Regions from separate parts of the Homo sapiens genome. Here region 1 is linked to region 2. The links are contacts of gene promoters, found by promoter capture Hi-C in blood cells and fetal thymus (Javierre and others, 2016). All regions are on one chromosome and are shown on one strand. The core of a region is centred on a gene start or on the middle of the fragment in contact, and the rest is flanking DNA. Distances in the headings are between cores, read along the strand shown.

Evidence for each region. The method cuts DNA at HindIII sites, captures the fragments that hold promoters and counts their contacts. A CHiCAGO score of 5 or more calls a contact.
Region 1: a contact is called between a fragment that was not itself captured here and the fragment with the promoter of IGF2R in region 2, in 2 of 17 cell types (naive CD4 T cells and total CD8 T cells). The highest score is 6.1, in naive CD4 T cells.

Annotation. Positions count from the first base shown.
Region 1 is chr6:160,453,452-160,457,586 of GRCh38, forward strand. No RefSeq gene overlaps it. Among named protein-coding and RNA genes, the nearest start is that of SLC22A3, 110 kb to the left of the region's middle. The HindIII fragment of the contact is 6,115 bases long and covers 1-4,135 here.
Region 2 is chr6:159,967,408-159,971,320 of GRCh38, forward strand. IGF2R (insulin like growth factor 2 receptor) reads left to right here and starts at 1,675. Exons shown (of 48, transcript NM_000876.4): 1 at 1,675-1,988. The coding sequence starts at 1,840. RefSeq lists silencers at 1,236-1,855, 1,866-2,145, 2,166-2,295. The HindIII fragment of the contact is 4,184 bases long and covers 1,068-3,913 here.

The sequences.
Region 1 (4,135 bases), core at 370-2,869, 490 kb after region 2:
CCAAGTAACAAACCTTGAAACACGAACATAGACACCAGGCTTATTGGGGCGTGCACAGCCAAGACCCCAAGAAGTGACTCCTTGTAAAATGTATTTGTCCTTCTCAAAGCAAACCAGAGGCCCTCCACTGTCACCCTAAATAGAGGTAGGGAAAAATTCATGTGAGGGTTAGGCTGCCAGCCTTTTATTGTGGCATCCATCTATTGTCCATATGTATATTTTCCCAGTAATTGAAATTGGAAAGGAACTTATGGGCATATTACTGGAGCATCTGCAGTGCTTAAGTACTTAGCAAAATCTATTCAGCGAAACCACACCACTTAGTTTCTCCCAGGGGTAAAAAAAACCCTTGTGAATCCTGCACACATCCCTTCCTGTGTTGGTGTTTCCTTTAGACTGGCCTAGCCTGGGCATCACTGTAAAGTATGTGCAGTTGGTCTCTGTCCTGTACCCTCTACCTCCTTCCCTGTCGGAAAAGTCACCACTTTAGTCCCTGGCCACCAGCACACCCCAGGAGGGTGAGTGGCCTGAGGTAGTTACGGCACTTAAAACTCCCTTGCTACCGATCTGGAACTCAAGCCCCAAGACATCCCCTTAGATGATCTGAATACGCATTCAGGGACAGATCTAGGCAGTTTCTAAACAACACTTAGACTGGGGTCTAACGTTGACAAATCCTTCTAGAATTTGCCTCTTTGGGACTGAAGTCTAAGGGGCTGAGACCAAGAAGGGAGAGCACAAGACTAACTTTGGTCTCTTGACCTTTTCTTACCTTGCAACTGTCAGTGCCTCCAGCCAAATGCCTAGCACAGAGCTCAGTGGATTTGATTCTTCCATTCAGATACTCATAGCGATTGCACACTTTATTCTCAATCACAAGAAGCTGGGGCTTCCTTGAGAAGGCCAGCCCCAAAGGTACCTGTGTTTAAAAGATGAAAGAAATGGTTGCTGAACCCAAAACATGTTTAGGAGGAAAACCAGAAGAACAGAGCAGTGGCACTGGACCTCCTGTCTGTCCGTGAGGCTGCAGAACACAAGGCAGCTCCCAATGCCGCTGGACTCTCTGACCTTGGAGAGTGTAAACATCATATATGATTCTGTGTTCCTGAGATCTGGGTTTAACGATCTGGGCTTTGTCATGGTGTTTTACGTTCGTTGTTGTTTGTGTACTTTTTGCTTTTCTTTTGAAAGTATGAAAATGATTTTTACAATGTAAAGAGAGTCTGAGAAATGCAATTGCTATTCTTTTTATATACTTTTTCAGATTTTTTATATGCTTCTTTACTACTTACATCATAATGCACAATTTTATATACTGATTTTTTCAATCAATGTATATCATGAGTTTTTAAAATAATGCTACAATCTTCATAACTAATATTTTAATGGGGAGTGACTGCTTAATTGGCATGAGGTTTCCTTTTGAGATGAGGAAAATGTTCTGAAAATATGGTGATGGTTGCACACCATTGTGAATGTACTGAATGCCATTCAGTGGTACCCTGCAAAATAATTAAAATCCTAACTCTTATGTTGTGTATATTTTATTGCAATAAAAAGAATAGTCGTCATTTACTAAGAATTAACCTTTTCAGGCACAAGCTCTTAATGTGGTGTATCTCACTTCATCCTCACAACCGTCCTATGAAACAGGCACTTTTATCATTCCTGTTCTACAGCTGAGGAAACTGAGGTGTAAGGAGGTTGTGTAGTTCAGCTTGAGCCTGGGTCTGCGGAGTCACTGCCCAAATGCTTCCTCCCCGTGCACACTGGCCCCACTCTTGCTTCCAATCTTCCACATGTTTGTTCATAAAGTTCATTCTCGTTTCTTTTCTGAAGTCTAAGTTCCCATAATTATGTTGACATATTTCCATCTCGCGGTAACACTCCCAAATTATTTTCTAAAAGTGTGTGACAGTATAAAATGTTACTGGAAACAATTCTCCTCACCCTTGTGAGTATTCAATTTTTAAAAGATTAGCTAACATAGTAGGTGGAAATTGTCCTGATTCATTTTCTGATTTACACTTCCTTGACAATTAGGGAGAAGAAATACAACTAGGGACAATTCTCCTAGTTGTAGTTTTTCTTTTGTGAAAAACTGCTTTATTTCCTTTGCCAAATTGAAACAGAACATCTGCTAAACTGCCAGAGGGAATGCTGTTTTTCCAGATGGACACGCCAAGGATGTCTCAGTGCTCTCACAAATAATCGTTTTCCAATTTTGCAAGCCCAGCTTTGATTAGAATTTCTCAAAATATTTTGCTTTGCGAGCATGACACAGGCAAAAGCTGAGGCACTCTTTCTTTCTTCCCCCAAAGTGTTGGACTGCACTTAGATCATTGTCTCAGGTTCAGAAAACTGACACTGAATCTGGAGTTTACATGAGCAGCGTAGAAGAGGCTCTTCCCAGAGCCTGGCTCCAGAGCCCAGCTCAGCCCTAGCCGGGAAGGAGCTGCATGGAGGAAGCTCCTCCTGGCTACCAAGCATCGGGCAGGGGGTGCATGACGTGGACTGTGTAGATGGGTGAGGGAGCACCCTTTTCAAAATATTTTGCTGAAAATTAAGTTAGATATCACTGCTCTCAGATCTGCTCTCAGAGCAAGGCAAACATCCTGATCAGGAGGTAAACCCACCACTAGTTGCCAGGAAATTGACGCGGTCTGTGAGTATGTGCTGCCATCCAGTGGCCAATGTAGAGATGGCACCTCTGAGGGCGGGGGGCCACGGGTGACCTTGAGGATTGAAGCCCTCCCTGATTGGGTCCTGGGGAGAGGGCCACAAGATTAGCCCAGTGATTGTGGATGGGGCTGACACGGAAGAGCCCCTTGGCCTCAACACCTACTCTGCATTTGGAATATCCAAGTCAAGGAAGGTCTGGAAACATGAAGGGGAGAGGGGGAGAATTTCGACCTCCCTCTGAGAAGCTGAGAACACCCATTGATCTGATGTCATCAACATATAGAAAATCGATAAACAGATCTGAGTTATGTTTTGTGACTCCTCCTGGTCTAGTTAGTGTTCTGAGAATCATTTTCTCAGTGGACATGTGGGTGAGACCAGAGGAGACAGGGAGCCAGTGCAGGATGGTGGTTAGAAATGTGCAGAAGGGGGTGGGAGAGAGGACACAGCGAGTGGGCTCTGGGGTCAAGGCCCGGTTACACGCCGGTTATGTGATGTTTATTTATGATGATAGTGGTGATAGTGATGGTGATAGTAGTGATAATAGTGATGATGGTGGTGGTGATGATGGTTGTGGTAATGATAATGGTGATGGTGGTGGTGATGGTGATGATGGTGGTGGTAGTGATAATGGCAATGGTGGTGATGGTGATGGTGGTGATGGCGGTGGTAGTGGTAGTAATGATGATGATGGCGGTGGTGATGGTGATGATGGTGATGGTGGTGGAATGGTGGTGATGGTAATGGTAGTAATGATGATGACGGTGGTGGTGATGATGTTGATGGGGAGGATGATGATAAGTGGTGGACGGGGATGACGGCGATGATTAATAACCCTAATCCTCACAATGACCTTATATGTAAGTACAGATGAGAAAGCTGAGGCTAAAAGAGATTAAATAACTGCCCAACGTCACATGGAATATGGGAGAGACAGAACTCACACCCGGATCCTTATGATTTTAGCTTCATGCTTTCATCAGTTGAAGTATTGTAGAGGATCTGTTTGTTTTCTGGCTGCCCAGCAGCCTTTCACCCTACATCCCATAATTCTGGTGAGGGATCTACCTTTTGCTCCCTTCTGGGTATGAATGGGGTCCTGCCTCCACCTTCAGCATGGAACAGCTGATGCAGGTCAGAGCCAATCAGTGACGGGCTCAGGGGCAGGACCATGACCCAATTTCAGTCTCTCAGAGTGGACAGACTATTGTTCATGTAAGGGAGAGAGTGGCCTTTCTTATTCTTTCTCAACAGAGCCAGAGCCACCACAGCATCTGCAGCCACGGGAGTGTCACCTTTGTGCCCCAAATAGTGCCTACTCCATGATTGGGAGGGTCTGGGGTCTGGGGCCTAATGTGAGCCTGAAGACTTTTCAGCTCACTAAGAATTTGCCTTGTTTTGCTTAATCCAATTTGAGTTGGATTTTCTGTCACTTGCAAGAAAGAGTCATGTT
Region 2 (3,913 bases), core at 425-2,924:
CAATAATTTTTCACCAGATGGTTTTAGTATTTACTGATGGTCTTTGCCTGTATCCATTATAACACTGGAGTTGCAAAACACAAACCCTTTTTCTTTTTTTTTTTTTTTGAGATGGAATCTCGCTCTGTTTCCCAGGCTGGAGTGCAGTGGCACGATCTCTGCTCACTGCAACCTCTGCCTCCTGGGTTCAAGCGATTCTCCTGCCTCAGCCTCCCGAGTAGCTGGGACTACAGGCGTGTGCCACCACGCCCGGTTAATTTTTTGTATTTTTAGTAGAGATGGGATTTCACTGTGTTAGCCAGGATGGTCTCGATCTCCTGACCTTGTGATCCGCCCGCCTTGGCCTCCCAAAGTGCTGGGTTTACAGTCGCGAGCCACCGCGCCCGGTCACCACAAACCCTTTTTCGACGTCCACAGTTTACACCTGAGCTCTCCCTTTGACCCACTACAACACTTTCTTTTCTTGGGCAATATATTAATAGCACGGTGGTTATGTCACAGGCCTGTGACTGGCTTGGGCTCAAACCCGGGCTTTTTCACTTACTAGCTGCAAGACTAACTAGTTATTTAATTTCTCCATTCCTCACTTTCCTTATCTGCAAAACGGATGCAATAAAGGCACCCCCTCTTACAGGACTGTTAGGATTAAATGAGCTAAATCACAGTGTCCGAACACTTCAGTACTTCGTACATAATTACTTGCTCAAGAAATGTTAGCTATTATTGGGTCATGATTATTTATATGTGTTTGAATTCCAGCTTTGCCACATCCCAGAGTGTCTTTGAGTAAGTCACTGAGTATCCTTGTGCCTCAATTCCTCATCTATAAGTAGGTTCCCATCTCATAGGTTTTTAAAGATTCATGCTTACATGCTTAGCAGTGTCTGGTATGGAATAAGCACTAAAAAAGATGAGCTTTTATGATGATGATGATTACTATTTTCAGTCATGATTATTTTGTATATTTACTCTAAAAGAAAGTGAATTTTTTTAGTTCAAGACTTTTAGATTCATCGTTCTACTTTCATTGTGGCTAGCTCATGGCCATCCACGTAGTGAATTAATAAAGCTTTGTTGAGTGGCACTTGCTTGACAGCGACACTTTTGTCCACTCTTTCACCTTGCTGGATTTGTGCTGCCTTCCTTGCTGTAGGAAGCCCACGCTTGGGAAATAACATTCCCACAGAAGGTCTGAGAGGCTCTGACGGGCCAAGGTTGTAAACCCCCATGATTTGACTCCACGGGCAGTTAAAGTGTGTTCCCACCCCCCACGGATCCGCTGCCACTAGGCTGTGCGAAGGCATTTACCTCCCTGGCACTTTGATCCAAGTTCCCTATTTTCCCCTACTGGTCGATCGAGGTTGGGAACAGTTGCTCTAACCTGGGAAGCACCCGCCACGATCCAGCAGGGCGCGGTGGGAGGGGAAACTGAGGCCCGGCTAGGCACCCCCGCCGCGCCCAGCCCGCCGAGAGGCTCAGGCCCCGGGAGGCACCTGGAGCCTGCGCCCCGCCCGCGCCGCTTCCTGTCCCGCGCGCTGCGCTCACGTGACCCGGGCCTGGGAGGAGCCGGGGCGGGCGGGGGTCACCTGAACAAGGGAGTCACGTGAGCGGGGGGCGGGGGTGGGGGGGCGGTGCCGGGCGGCTGTCACGTGACGCGGTTCCGGGGCCGCCGCTGCCGCTGTCGCTGTCGCCGAGCCCAGTCGAGCCGCGCTCACCTCGGGCTCCCGCTCCGTCTCCACCTCCGCCTTTGCCCTGGCGGCGCGACCCCGTCCCGGGCGCGGCCCCCAGCAGTCGCGCGCCGTTAGCCTCGCGCCCGCCGCGCAGTCCGGGCCCGGCGCGATGGGGGCCGCCGCCGGCCGGAGCCCCCACCTGGGGCCCGCGCCCGCCCGCCGCCCGCAGCGCTCTCTGCTCCTGCTGCAGCTGCTGCTGCTCGTCGCTGCCCCGGGGTCCACGCAGGCCCAGGCCGCCCCGTTCCCCGAGCTGTGCAGGTGGGTGGCCCGCCCGGACGCAGGCTCCGCTCGCGGTGCCCGGGGTGAGCGGCCGGCGTGGGGGGCGGGGAGCGCTCGAGGAGCTCCTGGGGTCTCCAAGTCGCCTCCGTTCCGCGCCGGGGTCCGCCCCGTTCCCGAGGGAAAGTTGCCTGCGTGGTGTCCGCGAGTCCCGCCGGGTCCCGTGCGCAGGCGGGGGGCGCGGGGGCACACGCGGTCGTGGCGGTCCTGGAGCCCCGCGTCCGGCCACTTGTGGCTGTCGCTGAGTCGGGGGTGGCTTTGTGCGGAGCGGTCGCCCCGGCCCTTGGGGTCGGCGCCTGCCCTCGCGCGGCCGGGCGTCCGGGAAAGTTGGAGGCAGGAACTCCAGTTTGCTTTGTTCCCGCTGCGCGTTTGCATCAGAGTTTCGCCAGCGGGGCACCGGTGAGGCCCCTCGGTGTGGAGAGGCTCACCGGGGCGTTGGAGCCCGCAGGAATGGTCCTGGAGTTGAGTGTTTGTGGTTTCATTTGCTGATTGATTTCCCCCCGTGGGCTCATTTTCTCTTTAAAGAATATATATATATATATATTTTTAGCAGGCGGTGACTTTTGTCTTCTTTAGATTGGGGGCAGGGGGTGTCGTCCAGTGTGAGCTTTCAAGACTTGACCCTTCACTTCTCTGAGCCCAACTTCCTGCCTGGTTGCTCACATGATGTCATTGTCTCCGGGGCGGATTATTCTAGTGGATCTTGCTCTGGGAACCATGATTGTATAACCCATCAGTCCCATCGAGGGCTGTTCACCTCGCGCAACTGCTAGCAGTCCAGGGCCTGGGGAACTTCGAATTTCAGGAATTTTCTGACCATCCTTTTCTGGACTGTTTAGGATGATGGAAAATTCAGCTTTTGTTTATTTTTTTAAACTTTGGTAAAAAGGAAGCAGGATGAAAAGTTTTGAACAGACAACAGTTTCTCCCTGTTACTGTTACTTTTACAAGTTACTTTTACAAGTTACTTTTCAGAGTGAAACAAAGTTGAGCCTACTTTGGGCTGAACTTGGAGTTTGTGGTAGGGTTTATGGGGGGGGTTCTTATTTTTCCCATGCATCAGAGATAGTTTTATTAGCACCCCTGTGTTCAGAACATGCAGAAATTAGTCTAAGGAGGGTGAGGCTGATCTCACGATAGAAACTCTTTGGAAAGGCCCATATTTTTTATGCTCCCTTTTTTGGAAGGGGAAGGGTGGATGGAGGGAGAGTTTGTGACACTAGTTTAAAGACCAGTTAGCTACCCTAAGATACATAGTTACTCCAGTAACTAGTATGATACAGAGAAATGGTGGCAGCTTAAACGAGGTCAGGCTGAGAACAACATTTAGAGGAAGGCATTTTGGAATAATGGCTTCTGTGACCAAAAATAAGAAATTAACTCGCCTGGGCGCGGTGGCTCATGCCCGGAATCCAGCACTTTGGAAGGCCGAGGTGGGCGGGTCACTTGAGTCCAGGAGTTGGAGGCCAGCTTCAGCAACATGGCGAAACCCCGTCTCTACAAAAAATATGAAAATTAGAGCCGGGCGCGGTGGCACACTCCTGTCCTCCCAGTTAAGGGAGGCTGAGGTGGTAGGATAACGTTAGCCCCGCAGGTCGAGGTTGCAGTGAGTTGTGATCGAGTCGAGTTGCACTCTAGTCTGGGCGACAGAGCAAGGCCCTGTCTCAAAAATAAATAAATAAATACAATAAGAAATTAACCCAGCTGGCCTAGTGTGGTTGAAGTCTTGGTCTTGTTAACAAATTGAAGTTTGTTTTCTTCACAGTTAAGATTAAGGTGGCTTCAAGGGCAGACTGATACTTTGGCTGATTGATGGGACCCTTACTTTTGCATTAGGTTAGTCATGGCAGTGTCTTGAACCTGTGTTCACGAACTTCATCTCCAGGTGGAACACGGCCTCTTGGTCT